Linked DNA regions of Homo sapiens: regions 1, 3, 4, 5, 6 and 7 are each linked to region 2. Evidence: promoter capture Hi-C in 16 types of primary human blood cells and fetal thymus (Javierre and others, 2016). All regions are on one chromosome and are shown on one strand. Each heading gives the region's core, a stretch centred on a gene start or on the middle of the fragment in contact. The rest is flanking DNA. Distances are from core to core; before and after follow the strand shown. Region 1 has its middle 25 kb from the start of LTBR. Region 2 holds the start of PTMS (parathymosin). Region 3 overlaps PLEKHG6 (pleckstrin homology and RhoGEF domain containing G6). Region 4 overlaps CLSTN3 (calsyntenin 3). Region 5 holds the start of LOC107984500 (a long non-coding RNA gene). Region 6 overlaps LTBR (lymphotoxin beta receptor). Region 7 holds the start of CD27 (CD27 molecule).

What was found. Contacts are between HindIII fragments. The CHiCAGO score rates a contact against its expected background, and 5 or more counts as called.
Region 1: a contact is called between a fragment that was not itself captured here and the fragment with the promoter of PTMS in region 2, in 1 of 17 cell types (naive CD8 T cells). The highest score is 6.0, in naive CD8 T cells.
Region 3: a contact is called between a fragment that was not itself captured here and the fragment with the promoter of PTMS in region 2, in 7 of 17 cell types (activated CD4 T cells, naive CD4 T cells, non-activated CD4 T cells and 4 more). The highest score is 10.8, in activated CD4 T cells.
Region 4: a contact is called between a fragment that was not itself captured here and the fragment with the promoter of PTMS in region 2, in 1 of 17 cell types (total CD4 T cells). The highest score is 5.3, in total CD4 T cells.
Region 5: a fragment that was not itself captured here is called in contact with the fragment with the promoter of PTMS in region 2 in 1 of 17 cell types (naive CD8 T cells); the score reaches 5.6 in naive CD8 T cells.
Region 6: a fragment that was not itself captured here is called in contact with the fragment with the promoter of PTMS in region 2 in 2 of 17 cell types (total CD4 T cells and activated CD4 T cells); the score reaches 6.2 in total CD4 T cells.
Region 7: the fragment with the promoter of CD27 here is called in contact with the fragment with the promoter of PTMS in region 2 in 4 of 17 cell types (naive CD8 T cells, total CD4 T cells, naive CD4 T cells and 1 more); the score reaches 5.7 in naive CD8 T cells.

What each region holds. Positions count from the first base shown.
Region 1 is chr12:6,407,942-6,410,641 of GRCh38, reverse strand. It overlaps the pseudogene RPL31P10. Among named protein-coding and RNA genes, the nearest start is that of LTBR, 25 kb to the right of the region's middle. The HindIII fragment of the contact is 9,699 bases long and covers 1-2,700 here.
Region 2 is chr12:6,765,113-6,767,812 of GRCh38, reverse strand. PTMS (parathymosin) reads right to left here and starts at 1,450. Exons shown (of 5, transcript NM_002824.6): 1 at 1,063-1,450. The coding sequence starts at 1,107. RefSeq lists silencers at 646-1,145, 1,256-1,585. The HindIII fragment of the contact is 8,838 bases long and covers 1-1,898 here.
Region 3 is chr12:6,321,583-6,324,282 of GRCh38, reverse strand. The region is part of intron 13 of PLEKHG6 (pleckstrin homology and RhoGEF domain containing G6); the gene reads right to left. Among named protein-coding and RNA genes, the nearest start is that of PLEKHG6, 12 kb to the right of the region's middle. RefSeq lists enhancers at 1-268, 712-801, 852-921, 810-1,351. The HindIII fragment of the contact is 1,382 bases long and covers 759-2,140 here.
Region 4 is chr12:7,153,023-7,155,722 of GRCh38, reverse strand. The region is part of intron 16 of CLSTN3 (calsyntenin 3); the gene reads right to left. Among named protein-coding and RNA genes, the nearest start is that of CLSTN3, 24 kb to the right of the region's middle. The HindIII fragment of the contact is 748 bases long and covers 964-1,711 here.
Region 5 is chr12:6,347,826-6,350,525 of GRCh38, reverse strand. SCNN1A (sodium channel epithelial 1 subunit alpha) reads left to right here. Exons shown (of 13, transcript NM_001038.6): 9 at 1,121-1,199; 10 at 1,305-1,362; 11 at 1,521-1,576; 12 at 1,724-1,799; 13 at 2,273-2,700. The coding sequence ends at 2,653. It overlaps LOC107984500 (a long non-coding RNA gene), which reads right to left and starts at 2,345. Exons shown (of 4, transcript XR_007063191.1): 1 at 2,259-2,345. The HindIII fragment of the contact is 4,954 bases long and covers 1-2,700 here.
Region 6 is chr12:6,391,362-6,394,061 of GRCh38, reverse strand. LTBR (lymphotoxin beta receptor) reads right to left here. Exons shown (of 10, transcript NM_002342.3): 10 at 2,496-2,700. Among named protein-coding and RNA genes, the nearest start is that of LTBR, 8.6 kb to the right of the region's middle. RefSeq lists an enhancer at 2,589-2,700. The HindIII fragment of the contact is 2,950 bases long and covers 1-2,700 here.
Region 7 is chr12:6,443,657-6,446,356 of GRCh38, reverse strand. CD27 (CD27 molecule) reads right to left here and starts at 1,402. Exons shown (of 6, transcript NM_001242.5): 1 at 1,126-1,402; 2 at 802-933. The coding sequence starts at 1,261. It overlaps CD27-AS1 (CD27 antisense RNA 1), which reads left to right. Exons shown (of 6, transcript NR_015382.2): 5 at 2,640-2,700. RefSeq lists enhancers at 122-241, 951-1,130, 1,161-1,220, 765-1,266, 2,171-2,220 and 1 more. The HindIII fragment of the contact is 1,289 bases long and covers 702-1,990 here.

The DNA of each region.
Region 1 (2,700 bases), core at 161-2,660, 360 kb after region 2:
AAAAAACACAATCTGGACTGGGCATGGTGGCTCACACCTGTAGTCTCAGTACTTAGGGAGGCCAAGGCAGGCGGATGACGAGGTCAGGAGTTCAAGATCAGCCTGGCCAGTATGGTGAAACCCCTCTCTACAAATACAAAAATTAGCTAGGCATGGTAGCGCATGCCTGTCAACCCAGCTACTGGGGAGGCTGAGGCAGGAGAATTGCTTGAACCCAGGAAGCAGAGGTTGCAATGAACAGAGATCATGCCACTGCACTCCAACCTGGGTGACAGAGCAATACTCCGTTTCAAAAAAAAGAAAAAGACACAATCTAAAAAGACAAAAAAAAAAAATCAGAACCAGACTCAGATATGACATCAGACATGGAATTTAAAGTAACATGATTATGTTAAAGGATTTAATGGAAAAGGTAGACAACATGCCAAAAGAAGATGGATAAATTCAGCAGAGGAAACCATAAGAATAAAATGGAAATGCTTGAAATAAAATCGTGGTGACAGAAATGAAGAACACCTTTGACTGGTTCATCAGTAGACTCAGTATAGCTGAGAAAAGAATCAGTGACCTTGGGTGTAGAGGTCAATAGAAATTTCCCAAACTCCCTTTCCAACTTGGACATGGCAGAATGGCTCCCACAAAGAAGGGTGGCGAGAAGAAAAAGGGCCGTTCTGCCATCAACGAAGTGGTGACCCGAGAATACACCATCAACATTCACAAGCGCATTTGTGGAGTAGGCTTCAAGAAGCGTGCCCCTCGGGCACTCAAAGAGATTCGGAAATTTGCCATGAAGGAGATGGAAACTCCAGATGTGCGCATTGATACCAGGCTCAACAAAGCTGTCTGGGCCAAAGGAATAAGGAATGTCCGACACCGAATCCATGTGCGGCTGTCCAGAAAACGTAATGAGGATGAAGATTCACAAATAAGCTCTATACTTTGGTTACCTATGTATTTGCTACCACTTTCAAAAATCTACAGACAGTCAATGTGGATGAGAACTAATCGCTGATAGTCAAATACATCAAATAAAGTTATAAAATTGCAAAAAAATAAAGAGGAATTACCCAAACTGAAGTGCAAAAAAAGAGTGGGTAAAAAACAAAACAGAACAACAACAAAAAAGAAAGAAAGAAGACACCATCCAAGAATACCAAATGAGTTAACATGCCCATAATTGGAATTCCAGAAGGAGAAGAAAGACTTGGACAGGATTTGTCTAATCAGACTTAGTTAAACAAACAAACAAACGAACAAAAAGAATAAGACAGGAGAAACATTTGAAGAGATAATGGCTTAGAATTATCCAAAATTAGTAACAGACAGAAAAGCACAGATCAAGGAAGCTCAGAGAACACCAAGCAGGATAAATACCAAAACAACACAGCCCCTCACCAAACCCATGCATCTAGGCATATCATATTAAAACTGCTGAAAACCAAAGAGAAAGAAAATCTGGAAGTCAGCCAAGGGGGAAAAAACATAATATCTTACCGAGGAGCGAGGATAAGAATTACAGCAGACTGCTAGTCAGAAACAATAAAAGCAAAATGAAATGGAGTAATATCTTTTTTTTTTTTTTTTTTGAGATGGAGTCTCGCTCCATCACTCAGGCTGGAGTGCAGTGGCATGATCTTGGCTCACTGCAACCTCCGCCTCCCGGGTTCAAGTGATTCTCCTGCCTCAGCTAGGTGCCTGCCATCATACCCAGCTAATTTTTGTATTTTTAGTAGAGACGGGTTTTCGCCATGTTGGCCAGGCTAGTCTCAAACTCCTGACTTCAGGTGATCCACCAACCTTGGCCTCCCAAAGTGCTAGGATTACAGGCGTGAGCCACTGTGCCTGGCCCAAATTAAGAGTTTTCTATTTTTATTTTTATTTTTTTAGAGACGGGGTCTCACTACGTTTCCCAGGATGGTCTGAAACTCCTGGACTCCAGTGATCCTCCCACCTCAGCCTCCCAAAATGCTGGGATTACAAGCATTAGCAACTACACCAGGCCAAAATTAAAAGTTTATCAGACAAACAGAAACTGAGGAAGTTGATTGCCAGCAGACCTACTTTATAATAAATGTCAAAGCAAGTTCTCTAAGAAGAAGAGGCTGGGTGTGGTGGCTCACGCCTGTAATCCCAGCACTTTGGGGGGCCAAGGCGGGTGATCACTTGAGGTCAGGAGTTTGAGACCAGCCTGGCCAACATGGTGAAACCCTGTCTCTACTAAAAACACAAAAATTATCTGGGCGTGGTGGTGGGCGCCTGTAGTCCCAGCTACTCAAGTGGCTGAGGCAGGAGAATTGCTTGAACCCGGGAGGCGGAGGTCGCAGGGAGCCGAGATTGTGTCAGCCTGGGTTGAACAGAGTGAAACTTCGTCTCAAAAAAGAAAGAAGAAGAAGAAATATAATCAAAATCTTGGATCTATACAAAGAAACAACGTACTGTAGTTTATAGAATACCATTTACAATAGCAGCCCCCATGAAGTTTTTAGGTATAAATATAACAAAATACGTGGGAGATATGTGTGCTAAAAACTACAAAATACTGACGAAAGAAATCAACATGGGGCCGGGCATGGTGGCTCCTGCCTGTAATCCCAGCACTTTGGGAGGCCGAGGCGGGCGGATCACTTGCGGTCAGGAGTTCAAGACCAGTCTGGCCAACATGGTGAAACCCCGTCTCTACTAAAAATACAAAAATTAGCC
Region 2 (2,700 bases), core at 201-2,700:
CACTCGCTGGATTTCAGACATACAAAGACACCTACTCAGTGAAGTCACATGCCACCGCACAGCCCGCCGGAGGGCCACACGGGCGCACCTTGGCAGATCGCACACAGCCCCTCTCCCACCGCCGTTAATCCCATTGGCTCCCCCCGTTTCACTCCGCGGGCCTCCGGGAGACCTGTGTGACGGCCCCTCAGCAACCACCGCGCCCCCCCCCCCCGCCATACACATACACACACAAGATAGGGCTCCCAGCCCCCAAACCCCGGCCGCGTTAATTTCCCAAAGCGACACTCCGCAGGTTCCCTGGGGAAATTAGAGGAAGGCTGGAAGAGAGGCAAGGGCGAACGGATGGGGCCGGGGAAGGGAGCTGATGAGGGCGAGGACAGCTCGACGCAATGCCATGCAATGCCCAGCCTCGGCTTTTTCGAAGGCTAGTCCTGCCCCGCTTCTAATTTTTAGGAATTCGAGATTCTTTCAGTGTGTATGCGGGAAGGGGACGATGAAGAGAAAAGAAAGCTGAAAGCCAGCTGAGGGGAGGGAACGAGAAAACAGAGGCGGCCGCCGTCCGGGGAGAGAAGCGAGCGACGGTCGGGCCGCGGGGAGGGGCCCGGAGGAGCAGCCTCCAGGGAGAGTCCTGTTTACACTTGAGGATCTCAAACCGCTTAGCGAGGAAAGGTGAGGTCAGGTTGCAAGCAAAGACGCGGCAGCGGGGCGCAGGGAGGGGGCGCGGCAAAGTGAGACTCGGGGCGTTCGGACGGGAAGCCGGACGGGATCCGGTCAGCGAGGTGGGGCCGAAGAGGGGTGGGGACGGCTGCGGGGGACGGCGCGACCGGAGCGGCGAGGCCGGGCGCCGTGGTGCGCGCAGGGCAGCTAGAGGGCGCTGGCGCTAGCCGCGCGGAGCCGGGAAAGGAGCTCCGGGCCGGGGAGCGGTGGGAGGGCGCAGTGGGGTCCGCCAGGACCCGGGCGCAAGGGCCGCGCGGGGCCGTCGGGGGCGGCCTGGGGCGAAGGACCGCGCCGGGCCCCAGGGCTGCGCGAGGTCCGGGCCGCCGCCGCCCCCGCCCGTACCTTGGCGCTCAACTCGGCCGCTGCCTCCACGCTTTTCTCCGACATGGTGCCGGGGCCGGGGCCGGGGCTGGCGGGGAGCCGGGGTCCCGGGGCCGAGACGGAGGGGCCCTGGACGGCGGAGGGTGGCCGCGGCCGGAACCTGGCGCGGTGGCGGCGGCGGCGGCGACAGCGGCAGCGGCGGCCGCTCGGCAAGCTGGGTCTCTGGAAGAGGCGGCAGAGGCGCGCGGGGTGGGGCGGGGGTGGGTCTGGAGCGGAGACCCGCAGGGCTGCGGCCGTCCGGAGGGCGGGCGGAAGGGCGGTGCAGGCGGTGGCCGGCGCGCTCGGCCGCGGTAGCTCGATCCCGGGCTCGCCGCCCCCGCACCAGCAGAGCTGCCGCCGACCAGCCGCTGCCGCCCCCGGGAAGGGAACCCGCTTATAAGGCGGCGCTGCCCGACGGGAGGGGCTTCCCAGGGGTGGGGCAGGCGGGAGCGGGGAGGAGAGGAGAGGGGAGGGGGATGAAAGAGGAGGTTGGAGAGGTGGGGATAGGAGGATGAAAGCGAGGGGAGGGAGAGCTAGGGAGTCGGGAGGGAGGACGAGACCAGGAGGGGGAAATGGAGAGACTGACGGCCGCGGAGAAAGAGTGGGGCGAGGAGGTGGGAAGGGGTGGGGTTCCTGCGGGGAGGCACCTTTCCAAATCCCAACCTACTGCCTGCGAATGTGGAGTCTGGCTTTTGGGGGCGGACTGGAGAGGTGGCCAGAATCCTACTGACCCCAAAAAAAGCCCTGGGATTTTGCCAAGGGGTGGGGTGAGGGGAGCAGATGGGAAGATAGGGCAGGTATTTGAGAAACCAAAAGCTTAAAGAAGAGGAAGAGGGTTCGGGCGCTCCTTCCACACCACGCCGGATTTCCCCCTCTCATCCTCCATCCACATTCTCTGGATGGCCTTGAGGAGGGATGGGAGGGCAGAAAGGGCGGCCCAGCCTTCTGTCCCGCCAGATTGACACTTGTGACCCTTGCCGGGTGCCTCCCTTCCTGGCCCCGTGCTGTGAGCCGGGGGGAGTCAGGCCCCCTGGTCTCCTTTGCTGTCTTCCAGCTCTCTTCCATCTTCTACCTCTCTTATTCGCCCGTCTCACCTCACTTTTATTCGCCTGGTCCTTCTATTTCTCTTCATCCGTCCTCAGTCATCTGTACCTAGACCCCTCCTTCACAACCAATTATAACTCGAATCGCTCCCATTCTTCTCTCACCTCTTCTCCACTCCTCACTGACTCTCTTCTGCCCTTCCACCTCTGGTCTCTTTCCCTATCTTTCCCAGACAACCCTGCTCTTGTCTTATCTGAGTCAGGCACCTGGCCCTCTATTCTTGGCTGGCTTTCCTCAACTCCTCTTTCTGTCCTCATTTTTTACATTTTCCATCCTTCAGCTTTTCTCATTCCTCTGCTGCCATCTTCCCTAGCCTTTCTGGGTTATATTTGCCTCCTTTGCAAATATAATACAGGTCCAGGTCTGGAGTTCCAGCCCCACCCTATTCCACACATCCTCAGCTCCTCGCCCTCAATCTCGGTATCTTTGAGTCATTTTGAAAAGCTTGGGATTTCAGAAGGGAACAGGGGCTGGGTTGTGTATTAAAGGTCAGGAAGGTGGACAGAGTGGAAGGCT
Region 3 (2,700 bases), core at 200-2,699, 440 kb after region 2:
GGGGGAGCCCCGAGTACGGGGTAGGGGGTCGGGGGAATGGGCGGGATGGGGCTCTTGGAGGTGCCTCCCAGCGAGCCCAAAGCCTCTCCAGCAACCCTGGGAGAATTTTCTCGGCTTGGTTAAGAGGAGAGACACATGGGGGCAGAGGGGACGGGAAAGGAAAAGGAAATTGGCGCTTAAGCCAGAATGTGACCCCCCTACAAAACTGAGAAGAGGAAGGGAGGGCCCCTAGCAGGATTCTTCTTCCTTTGTACCCATGGAGAGGAAATGCCTCCTTTCCCTGCTGTCTCTGGGGTGGCTCCTAGATTCACCCACTCTCCTCCCAGAACTCCCCAGTGCCGGACTAAAACCGAACTCTGAAACGTGCCCACTGACTTCCTGAGCAACAGATGCGGATGCGTTTCCCCAGTCAGCAGCAGGCCCTACCCAGGCCCCAAAGACCACCCCTTTCTTCTAATGATGACAACGGCAAACATTTATGGAGTGCCCATACAGTGCTGGGCCTTGTGCCTGGCCACTTGCGGACTGTCTGTCCTGCGTGCACTGCAACTCCCCAAGAGGTGAAGTAACTCCCTGACAGCTGCTCGGGCCTCTCCTTCAGACCCTGGCTCTTAGCCTCGGCTGCCTCCTTCAGTCTCCCTGCTTTAATTTCTTGGTCGCCATCTCTGACGGCTCTTTCTGTTCCTGTCTCTGTTCCTTTTCCTCTTCTCAGTCCCTGGGCATTCCCCAAGATTCAGTCTCTTCTCCCTGGAGAAGCTTACTTTCTCTAAAAGTGTGAGTCATCACAGCTAGACCCGCTAGGAATAAATCTGCAAGTCAACGTTTCTGCCAGGGTGAGAAAACAATAGTCTGCCCCCTGGGGATTGCTCTATGAAAGGGACCAACAGAGTTTCTACTGCCCTCTTCAGTGTATAAAGACTGATGGCTCTAGAGAGGATTCCCTAATAATCTGGTGTGAGACAATAGCAGGAAAAGTCATTTCAAAGTTTCAGTTTTCTTTGTTTTGCTAAGGAAGGCCAGGGAGCCTTGGTGCATATCTTGGTTATAGATCTTGACAGATCTTTCCTGTTAGCCTGGAGTGAGACTACCAGGGGACTGAGTTGTTTTGCATAGTAAAATACCCGTAATTTTCAGTAGCTCTTGGGATTCTGAAAGGGAGAAGGTGAGAGTCTGGCTGTTGTTCTGTGACTAAAAACCAAAAAAAAGAGGAGAAAGTTCTGAAGGTGGAGGTGGCAGTTCCGAAGGAAAAAAGGCAGCCTGCCATTCACTGCCAGCCCCACTGGCTATCCTGGGGAGTTGGGGCTCTAGGGACACCGATGCCACTAGCTTGCGCTTTTGTCCCTGGGCTCCCCCTTGAGCCTCTAGCCTTCAGGAAAATGTTTTATTTAACTTTTTTTTTTTTTAGACAAGGTCTCACCCTGTTGTCTGGGTTGTAGTGCAGTGGTGGGAACATAGCTCACCGCAGGCTCTATCTCCCGGGTTCAAGTGATCCTCCCACCTCAGCCTCCCGAGTAGCTGGGACTACAGGCATGCGCCACCAGGCCCAGCTAATTTTTGTATTTTTTGTAAAGATGGGGTTTTGCCATGTTGGCCAGGCTGGGTCTTGAACTTCTGGTCTCAAGCCATCTGCCTGCCTCAGCCTCTCAAAGTGCTGGGATTAGAGGAGGTGAGCCACTACGCCTGGCCAAGAAAATTTGATTAACCACCAGAATGATGTCACTTGCCAGTCAGTCCAGCCTAGTGGAAAGTGTGTTTAGGCTTAGGTGGAAGTGGTGGAGAGAAGTCCCTGCCATGCAGAGGGGACAGTGAACCGAGCCGGAAGCAGGGGACAGGGCAGATGGGAGACCACTGTCATCACAAAACCCACCTGCCTCCCCTTGGGGTGTGTTTTTTGTCCTCCTCTTTCACTTGAATTCCAGGTCTTTGTTTCTGTTTCTTTTGTTCCCAAAGCCCCTAAGATATCTCCACTAGGTTATATCTTGGCTGCCTCAATTTCAAAGCGCTGCTGTTTAAATATTCCTACAGTAAAGCCACCTCACTGAGGAAGCAATAACTAAACAAACACATTTCCCTTTCCCTTTCTAATGACTGCATTTCTGTCTGGGGTCCCATTGCCAATGCAGTGTTCCAAACTGAAGCTTCGGGAGGCCAACTGTGCTCTTTGCCGCTGGGTATCTGGAGTTCCTGAGCCTGTGCCCAGTGCTGGCCCCAGGCTGTGTGCCTAAGCCGAATGACAGCTTTGAATCTCCCTAGGAAGCAGGTAGTCATTGTGTATATCTGTTTTGCAGATGACGAAATTGAAGTTGAGGGAGGTCATATAACTTACCCAAGGTCACATGGCTAGGACCTGGTAGGACCGGTGTCTGAACCTGGATTTTTCTGAATTCAGTATAGACTTTAACCAAAGTATCCCTAAGGCTCCCCCTTCTCTTCCCTCTTCTTTTTTTTTTTTTTTTAAGACAGAGTCTCGCTCTGTCGCCCAGGCTGGAGTGCAGTGGCGCGATCTCGGCTCACTGCAAGCTCCGCCTCCCGGGTTCACGCCATTCTCCTGCCTCAGCCTCCCGAGTAGCTGGGACTACAGGTGCCCGCCACCGCGCCCGGCTAATTTTTTGTCTTTTTTAGTAGAGATGGGGTTTCACCGTGGTCTCAATCTCCTGACCTCGTGATCGGCCCGCCTCGGCCTCCCAAAGTGCTGGGATT
Region 4 (2,700 bases), core at 88-2,587, 390 kb before region 2:
CCAAGGTGAAGACAGGACTGGCTGGATCAGTATTTCTCAACTTCCTGGGAACGGGGGATAAGGGAGGAGGGGACAGAGCTGTCTCTCCTGCCCATCTGCAGGAAATAGTGTCTCTCAGGTCTCCACGTCAACAGACCAGAGCCAGGGGCAGTGCCTTCACTGGCAGATGGGCCCAGTGGCTAAGCCCAGGCTCCAGAAGGGGTGGTGACCCCACCCTCAGAGTGGAGGCCAAAGCAGGTGAACTTCCTCTAAGCACACAACGATGACGAGCTAAAGCTGGTTTGCGCCCTAATCAATGCAGTGTCCCTCCGAGCTCCTGGCCTAATGAAGGAAATGACAAGTTGATTGCCAGGACAATAAGAAATGACCACAGGAAAGACAAAATGCAGACACTCTATCTACAAGCAAACAAGTCTGGTTAATTAGTTTAAGATGAGTCAGGAGCCCGGGGAGATGGGAGGATTTTTAAATCAGCTACAGATAAAAATCAAGAATTTAAGAAGTGCGTTCAGCTTTTCTTGCTACATGAGATCTGAGCAGTTAATTCTGGCCTTGAATGACCTCCAGAGCCAACATTAAGGGGTGACTTAGCAAATGGTCCATGGGATTGCGAGGACAGTGGAAAGCCCTGTCCATGGCCCCACACGGTGCTCTCTTTGCAAAGAGCCTTGGGAGAGATTTCTTTCTGCCCCCCGCACTCCCAGGGCTTTTCATGAAATAGCGTTTGGCTCCTATCACGGCTCTCAGAACTGCTCAGGTTTCCTTTTGCTTTAGCTTTGAAGAAGCTCAGGGTCAAAATTCTGGCCCGTGGTAGCAACTGCATAGCATCTCATAGTACGCATGTTATGAGCTGACTTTATTCCCTGGCTTCATTGGATCCTTATTTCATCATTACCTGTTCCTCCTTACTTCCTCATTCATTTTCTTTTTGTCCTATTGCTTTGTAACTCTTTCTGCAAAGCTTCAGATACTTGTAGGAAACAAAAGAGGAAAATTATTCCCAAACTTTTAAAGATTACATGGGATTTTTAAAAACCACTGACACGTGGCTCCCACCCCCTAGACATTCTAGGGTATAATTTAGGTGCCGAGAGTTTTTAAAGCTCCCCAGGTGATTCTGGCAGTCATCAAAATTTGATATGAGTAGATACATAATACCCTCATCATCCGGCTTGCTCTTCTCAACCAACCTTATTCTCTCTAACCATAAACACTCTTAACCACCTATCTACCCCCGGTTCTCAAATTCCCATTCTCTCTCACACCCATCCAAAAATCCCTTTTACAGTTCAGGTCCAAATGCAAACTCTACATGTGCCACAAAATCTCCCCTGACTGTTCCAGTTTACCCTGGTTCCAGTTCACATTCATCTCTCTTTCTCTAGTGCACTTAGGAGATTTAGAGCAATGGGCCTCCGTGCCACTGGAGGAGATCGTACCTCTCACTGCTTCTGCATGTTTAGAATGGTTTGATATTGTGAAACCACAGTTCTGCAACACCACTCGAGATTTGTAGGTGAAAGGGAGGGAGCACCTTGCGGAGTCAGAAAAGGCATATGGAAAGGGTTTTATGCCGTGAATGGCCTGTCAGCTCAGGCATGCCAATCACCAGTGCCCTCAGGGAAGCTACGAACTCTGTGTCCTATTCAGGTCAAAATAAGAGAAGAAGCAAAGGAAAACTGCTGCTCTCAACTGAAATCTGAGGGAAGCTTGATCAGCCTGGACATGAGCTCAGAACAAAGGATGGGGAGACTGGGCTTCACCGAGGGGAGGTGAAAGGGTGCCGTGAACAGACACTCCTCCAGGGGCTGAGGGGTGAGAAACGCTGCCCGCCAGACCAGCCCATGCAGGGCAGCTGGACACTCAGGGGAGAAGGTGCTGGGCTCCTAGAACAAGAAGTCTCTCACCTGGGGCCTTATACCAAAGAAAGTAAGGATCGAGAATCTCACCAGGCCAGGCAGCACCCCTATCTACCTTGAGCCTAATCAGAGTAGCAGGACCTAGTATCCAACCAGAAAAGATTGAGTGGAATGATCCCCAATGAAAGAACTGGAGAAAGTGCTATGGAATCACAAGAAGGAAAAAAATTTATAGCTGGCCTCAAGAGTTTATTTGAAATAAATAGGTTTAGCTTGCTAACATGTCTCTATTGACTAAATACTATGTGAAACTTCTCTAATCTTTGCAGCTTGGTTATGCCTTATATTCCCCGCTAATCCTCACTTCCACCTACTTGCTATAGTGAATCACAGTAGAACACTGAAAAAGGCGTCTGCAAGTCCAAGTGCGGCGGCTCACACCTGTAATCCCAGCACTCCGGGAAGCTGAGCCAGGATGACCGCTTGAGCCTAGGAGTTCAAGACCAGCCTGAGCAACAAAGTGAGACCTTGTCTCTATAAAAAGTCTTAAAAATAGCCAGGCATAGTGGCATGCATCTGCTCCTCAGGGGGCTAAGGCAGGAGGATTGCTTGAGCTCAGGAGTTCGAGGCTCCAGTGAGCTAGGATTACCACTGCTCTCCAGCCTAGGCGACAGAACAAGACCCTGTCTCTCCCTCCCAAAAGCCTCTGCGGTTGTTTTCAGGGACAGCAAGGAAGAAGGGAGCCAGTCCCAGAAAAATAAAATAAAATAAAATAAGAGACAGTGTAGGTGGTGGCCGTTGCACAAGGAGAGGAAGCCAGACTGAATCCCTGGGGGCATCA
Region 5 (2,700 bases), core at 23-2,522, 420 kb after region 2:
TAATGGGTGTGAAGTGGTATCTTATTGTGGCTTAATTCCCTTATTCTTATACAATTATTGTTCCCATTTTTCTTTTCTTTTTTTTTTTTTTTGAGACGGAGTCTCGCTCAGTCGCCCAGGCTAGAGTGTGCAATGGCGCGATCTCGGCTCACTGCAAGCTCCGCCTCCCGGGTTCACGCCATTCTCCTGCCTCAGCCTCCCGAGTAGCTGGGACTACAGGCGCCCGCCACCACGCCCGGCTAATTTTTTGTATTTTTAGTAGAGACGGGGTTTCACCGTGTTAGCCAGGATGGTCTCGATCTCTTGACCTCGTGATCCACCCGCCTCGGCCTCCCAAAGTGCTGGGATTACAGGCGTGAGCCACCACGCCCGGCCTGTTCCCATTTTTCTTTATGGCGTTTATGTTTTTGTCCATAGCATATATTTCCTTACACTGGTGTATCCTGTTTTGTTTTTCGCCTGACTTAGCTTATTTTCTTTCTTTATTAATTTATTTTTTAGGCCAGGTGCGGTCGCTCACACCTGTAATCCCAGCACTTTGGGAGGCCGAGGCGGGCAGATCACGAGGTCAGGAGATCGAGACCATCTTGGCTAACACAGAGAAACCCCATCTCTACTAAAAATACGAAAAATTAGCCGGGCGTGGTGGCGGGCGCCTGTAGTCCCAGCTACTCCGGAGGCTGATGCAGGAGAATGGTATGAACCCGGGAGGCGGAGCTTGCAGTGAGCCAAGATTGCGCCACTGCACTCTAGCGTGGGCAACAGAGCGAAACTCCGTCTAAAAAAAAAATTAATTTATTAAAAATTTTTTTTTTTAGAGACAAGGTCTCACTCTGTTGCCAGAGTTGGAGTACAAAGGCACACTCATAGCTCACTTGCAACCTTGAACTCCTGGCCTCAAACGACCCTCCCACCTCGGCCTCCCAAAGTGCTGAGCCACTGTCCCTGGCTTAGCTTAATTTCTTAAACGCTTCTTGGTACTGCCACTCATAAGGCATCATTATAATGCTAAATAATGCTCTTGTAAAGTGGGTACCCAGGGATCTTGGGAGACCTCTTGGGTGTGGGGTAGAGAAAGCTGAGGTGCCCTAGGAGAACAGGCATCTCTCTGTACCCACAGGGTACTGCTACTATAAGCTCCAGGTTGACTTCTCCTCAGACCACCTGGGCTGTTTCACCAAGTGCCGGAAGCCATGCAGGTTAGTGTCCCCTTCCCCGGGTACAGGTTGGGTAGAATACAGGTTACCGAGCCAAGCATTTGGGAGAGCTCTGCCCCAACACTGAGCACCTTTCTCCATCCCCAGCGTGACCAGCTACCAGCTCTCTGCTGGTTACTCACGATGGCCCTCGGTGACATCCCAGGTAGAGTGTGGGGAAGGGATGGGTGGGGGATGTGTGTGCCCATGTAATGCTGTGGCCTTCTCTGGGTATTATGTGTATGAGTGTGTTTGACACAACCCTATCCCTGTAAGCCTGAAGCATATGGGAGTGACCTTGATGACACCCCCATTCTTTCCTAGGAATGGGTCTTCCAGATGCTATCGCGACAGAACAATTACACCGTCAACAACAAGAGGTCAGTCCTGCCCTGGTCCCAGCCACAAGAAGGGAATCTTTGGGAGGGAAAATAGACCTAAGAAGAGGGATCGATATGGTTGATTAGAGGAAGGTCCAGGAAATTCATCCTCTACCATTTCTTCCCACCCTCTGCCCCACACCTAAGAAATGGAGTGGCCAAAGTCAACATCTTCTTCAAGGAGCTGAACTACAAAACCAATTCTGAGTCTCCCTCTGTCACGGTAGGTCGTGCCTGGATGGAGCCTGTGATGCTCTGGGGGTCTTACTTAGCAGGGCGGCTGTCGGGGAAAACCAAAAGGTTGTCTCTGTGGGCCAGAAGGCTCTGAGTCTCAAAGGCAGGGGACCAAAGAAGAGGGTCAAGGGAGAGGTTGGGAGGGTTGGAAGAAGGAGCTCGGCCGGGGCATAAGGTCTCTGGGGGTGGTGGGAGGGACAGGCATGCTAGATGCTGGGGTGAAGGCGCTTGACCCATGCCCCCATTTCAGCTGCCCCTAACTGTGGGCCAGTTATCAGTTTTCTCTGGGTGACACTGGCCAGGAGCAGAGACAAAGAGCCCAGGGGGCTGCTGAGAGGCTGAGAGGACTCGGGGGTCTTCAGGGATGAAGGGAGACAGCTTGGTGAGGAGGGAAGGGGGCTCCTCTGCCAGAGTCCATCCAGAACCCTCTGTCCCATCGTCAATGTACCTCTCCTCTCACAGATGGTCACCCTCCTGTCCAACCTGGGCAGCCAGTGGAGCCTGTGGTTCGGCTCCTCGGTGTTGTCTGTGGTGGAGATGGCTGAGCTCGTCTTTGACCTGCTGGTCATCATGTTCCTCATGCTGCTCCGAAGGTTCCGAAGCCGATACTGGTCTCCAGGCCGAGGGGGCAGGGGTGCTCAGGAGGTAGCCTCCACCCTGGCATCCTCCCCTCCTTCCCACTTCTGCCCCCACCCCATGTCTCTGTCCTTGTCCCAGCCAGGCCCTGCTCCCTCTCCAGCCTTGACAGCCCCTCCCCCTGCCTATGCCACCCTGGGCCCCCGCCCATCTCCAGGGGGCTCTGCAGGGGCCAGTTCCTCCACCTGTCCTCTGGGGGGGCCCTGAGAGGGAAGGAGAGGTTTCTCACACCAAGGCAGATGCTCCTCTGGTGG
Region 6 (2,700 bases), core at 7-2,506, 370 kb after region 2:
TGGCCCCCTAACGGGTGTCCCACCCCCGTGTTGATGTGGGTTGGACTTGGTGTTAGCTTTCTCCTCCCTGTGGTAGAGGATTAGGGTTCTCACAACCAACAGTTACCCCATTGTCAACTGCCATTGCATCCTGTTGCATCTTTTGAAGACCACCATCAAGAGGCTGTCTTTGTTGGTTTTCTGCCAGCTTTTCCTTGTAGACAGGAGCTCCCCTCTACGTGGCCTGTGCTCTGTGGATGTGTCCTGGAGCCTGTACTGACTCCACACTGGCAAAATAGACATGGGTAATGCTGTGGGTGGAACTGTGTCTCCCTCCAAAATCCACGTGCTGAAGCCCTAACTCCCAGGACCTCAGAATGGGGCCTTATTTGGAGACAGGGGCTTTAAAGAGGTGACTAAGTTAAAATGAGGTCATCAGGATGGGCCCTAATCCACTAAGAGAAGATTAGGACACACTCATGCACAAAGGCAAGACCATGTGAAGACATAGGTGGCAGGAAGGCCACCATTAGCAGGCCAAGGACAGAGGCCTCAGAGGACACCAACCTTGCCAACACGTTGACCTCTGACTTCCAGCCTCCAGAGCTGTGAGAAGATAAATCTCTGCAGCTTAAGCTATCGAGTCTGCAGTACTTTGTTATGGCGGCCCTAGAAAATTAATTTAGGCAGCCCAGGTGCAGTGGCTCATGCCTGCAATCTCAGCTCTTTGGGAGGCTGAGGTGGGAGGATCACTTGATCCCAGGAGTTTGAGACCAGCCTGGACAACATAGCAAGACCCCACTTCTTAAAAAAGAAATTAAAAAAAAATTAGCCAGGTGTGGTGGCACGCATCTGTAGCTCTAGCTACGTGGGAGGCTGAGGTAGGAAGATCATTTGAGTCTAGGAGCTGAGGCTATATGAGCCACGATTATACCACTGCACTCAAGCCAGGGCGACACAGTAAGACCCTGTCTCTAAAAAAATACAGGCAGGTATAATTATAAATTTGAATGGTGTCACAAAGGGCTGTGCTTCAGCATCATTTCTTTCAAAATATTTTCCTCCTTTTATTTTGTTGAAAAAAATGTATAAAATTTGTTTTTTATCTAAACACATTAGAACAATTATTAAGAATTCATGAGGTCTGGCCCCAGCATATTGCAGGGGCAGGAGGATTTAACTTTATTTAAAGATACAGCTCACCATTATTTACTTTTCAAAAAAGGAAGTTGGATGTGATATTTTCACAGTCAACCTTAAATGACCCATCCACTCCATTGGATCAGACGCCTTCTGAGGTGTGTGTTTTGCAGCCGCCCCACCCTGATGAGCTCCAGCGACAGAGTTCCTCATATCAGACCCATGAGAGTGGCCTTTTATGGAAGGAGCAGCCGGCTGGCAGCAGCTCCCTAACAATCCTGCAAGCTAAGATCCTCTCGACCGAGCACAGGAGAGAATTCAGGGGCAGGGAGGGGCAAACATTTACTAATAAGAGGGCTTGAGAAGATTTAAAGTCCTTTTTGGGGGTAAAAATAAAAGAAGACAAAAAGAAACCAAAAAAGTAAAAATCATAAATACTCTTTCTGAACCAAAAGGAGGCCAGCCTAGATTTCTGTTCACCAACAAAATGTGAACTTGGCCTCTCTCATTTTATGTCTAAAGTGCACACCTCAGGTCAGGCACGGTGGCTCTCACGCCTGTAATCACTGCATGTTCAGAGGCCAAGGCAGGAGGATTGCTTGAGCCCAGGAGTTCGAGACCAGCCTGGGCAACACAGGGAGACCTGATCTCTACTAAAAATACAAAAAATTAGCTGGGCGTCGTGGCACACACCTATAGCCCCAGCTACTTGGGAGGCTGAGGTGGGCGGATCCCTTGAGCCAGGAGTTCAAGGTTGCCATGAGCCATAATAGTGCCACTGCACAACAGCCTGAGTGACAGAATTAGATCCTGTCTCAAAAAAAAAAAAAAAAATTGCACACATTTCCCTTCAATCAACCTTGGAGAACATTTTTCACTTCGCGTGTGGCTAGATGTTTGAGAGTTGACTGAAAAGTAACACCTGCGGAACATGCAAGAGATCTGATTATTTGAGAAGGCCAGACCATTCTACCCGTTCAAAGAAATTCTGGAAGGGCGTGGTATATGAAGGCTTTTTTTTCCCCAAGAGGCCTCTAAAAGCCAGACGAACTAGGTGCAAATCCCAGCTTTGTCATTTGCAGCTGAATTGGGAAAGTTACCGCTCTGTGCCTCAGTTTCCTCATTTGTTAAATGGGAATCATATCTACCTTAGGGAGTTATTGTGAAGATTAAGTAAGTTAGTACTGTAAAGCATTGAGAACACTGCCTGGCACGTTGTCAGCCATCACTGACGAGACTGTTATTACCTGGACTATACTCACCAGCTCCTCACTGAAATATCTTTATGGGATTATATTTTAGTGTCTTGACCTTTGTCTTTGAGATTGTCTCCATGGAATAGTGTTTCTGTATAAATCCCAAGAAAATAAATTATCTAGGTCCCATTCTTTTTATTTGCATGTGGTTACAATATAAATACACTTGCCATTTTCCTCCCCTTCCAAAACTCTTCCCCATACCTAGGAATCCTACCCAACCCCCTAGTTGTTAATGACTCCCTTTCCTCTCCTCTAGGAGGGGAGGGAAGGAGCGTCCTCCCTATAATTTCATCTTCATGCAGGGTCTACCTCAGTCCACGTG
Region 7 (2,700 bases), core at 153-2,652, 320 kb after region 2:
GCACTCCAGCCTGGGTGACAGAGCTAGACCTTGTCTCTAAACTAAACAAAACAAAACCCAGTACCAAGAGACCCAGTGACACCAAACACGTTTTGCAAGTAGGTAGTTTAATAGTTACAGTTACCTGGTTCTAAAAAGTGTCTTGCTAGAGAACATTTGTTCAAAGGGGCCACTTTAAAGCCTGCTATTCTAGTGTATACTGGCCGTAGTTTCTGAAATTGTAGCGAAGATGGAGAAATAATAACAGCATTCATAAGCACAACTGCAGATATTATACTTCTTAGTTTAAAAAAAACCTTTTTTTTTGGAACTATAAAATAAAAACACAGGCTACATACATACTCATTTTCTCAAATTGGCTTTTGTGCAAAAAAAGGTTGTTACCTATTGGGTTGCTTTGTTATTTCCTTAGAAAGATGTATTCCAAATTCCCAATGGCCAACCTGCACATGTGCACTCTGGGAACACAGTCAGTTTATTGGTTGGGGGTTGCTTGCCCGAAATCTGGGGTCATAGAGCCACTTCTCTCATTTTATTGTCTTGATCCTATCCATAGACCCGTTCTCACCAATCCCTCAAATTCTATTTATCCCTTTCCTGGAATACTAGATGTCTGCCCACGTTAATTCATGCCCCACCTAGGGTGCCGCATTTCCCAGCATTGGCTCCACTTGCTGTGAGCCTTGAAGAAGGCCAAAGCTTTGGCCCCGTCATCCTCCTTGCACCCCCAAACCCGTCACCAGCCTTGCTCCCCCAGATGCTTGTCCATCGTCCCCACCTACACACCCTTGCCCACCTCACCAGAGTTACAGTGCCGACAGCTCTCACAGTGGGGCCGGGTGTGGTGGTCAGGAGAGAAGGAGACCCCCGGTATGCAAGGATCACACTGAGCAGCCTTTCTATGCTGGTCACAGTCCTTCACGAGGAATGTTCCTGGGAGGAGAGGGTAAGGGATCAAGGCCTGAGAAGGGCTGGTTCTCTGCCCTCTTCAAGGTGGTGCCTCCCCACAGCTGCAGGATTTCCCTCCTTGCTTGAGCTCAGTCTCACCCTGCGCCTATTTACTGTATTAACCCCAGTCCTCTCTCTTTCGCCACTCACCTGGCCCTTACCAAGGCCCCCTCTTACCTGGCTCACACATCTGGCAGCACAGCTTTCCCTGAGCCCAGTAGTGCCTCTCTGGGCAGCTCTTGGGGGCTGGAGTAGCTGAGAGCCCCACCAGGGTCCCCAGAACGCACAGCCACCAGGGATGTGGCCGTGCCATGGTCCCTGCCCAGGCGGCTCCTTTCTGTGCCCAGTTGCTGATGCTGGCCTCTGGAGTTAGCACCTCCAAGCTGGGCGCTGCTGTCTCTTCTTTGCACCCCCTGGGCAGTGGCTGCTTCAGGTGGCAAGCCAACCTTTGAAGGCAGAATCTCTATTGTGGCTGTTTTTTTTTTCTCTCTCATAGCAGCAACCTCCACCCCCTTCCCCTTCCGTGTGCTGGGGAGAGTATTAAAGAGCAAACTCTGTGAGACCTGCTGCTCTTCAAACATGCTTCCTCCAACACATGAGCCTTCCTTAGTTTCCGCCTCTCCTGCTCATGAAGCACGTAGCCCACTGACTCCTGCTTCTTTGACAAAAAGGTGATGGACACACAGTTGCTCACCCCTCCTATTCATGCACTTGTGCACAAAGGTGCCCACGTTACCCCCCCCCACCCACCCCCCCGTCCACAGTTTACAGACGAATTCGCAGGACTCCTGTCTCCCATACCTGCATCCCTCCTTTCACAGACAACAGTTGAAAGAAGGAAGGAGAACCAGAATTGAGCACAGGTCCACAAGCTCTTATCTGAAACTTTGGGGGTCAGATAAGTTTTGGAATTCAGAATTTTTCAGGTTTATACAGAAACCAGCACCACAAAACACCCTTGGGGAGTTGGGGTAGTCTCATAATCAAACGCAACATTTCTGCAGCAAAACTATTGAATATTTACACCAACTGGGAGGAAGCTTAAATAGCCTTGTCTCAATTGAGGTCTGGTTTGATGGCCAAACGAGTTTGCTACAGAATGCTCAGAATTGCAAGCAAGGGGTGTAGAGCTGCCTCTCTTCTGTCACACTCTGACCGATCACCTATGCTCTCCTTTAATCCTCATGTCAGTCTCTGATGTGGGTGCCACCTACTGCCCACATGGCCTTCCCTCTCAGACCCTTGCTCACTCCTCACTTTTGTGCCATCTTTATCCTCCCCTTTCCCACCTCTGGCTGTGTCAGTCACTGGTGTCCTGGATCGCCTGGAGCATCTTCTCTCCTAGCCTTGGGCACTTGGGATTAAAGGTAGCTTCCTACGGGGGTCATCTCTTTTTTATTTTCCCAGTTCTCCCAGCAAGACTGATTTCGGGATATTGGAAACAGCTAGACTTTTCCCTCTTTGAGTCATGGGGACACACACGGGTCAACAGCCTCCTCCACTCTTTCCTCAGCAACCGATATGTGGAGTGGCTTATTTCCCCAGGAAGTTTTTAATTTAGGGGCTTTGCCGTTGTTTCCACACTGTTCATAAATGTCACACTGCTGTGGTCACACCTGTCAGATCTGTTCTCTATCTCACTCTGTAGTTTCCTTTCTCCTCATTTTCTCCATTCTCTTGTCTTTTCCCAGCCCCCTCTGCAGCTCTTCATGGGGGTCCACTCAAGTCAGAAGCCACATTTGGGTGTGATTC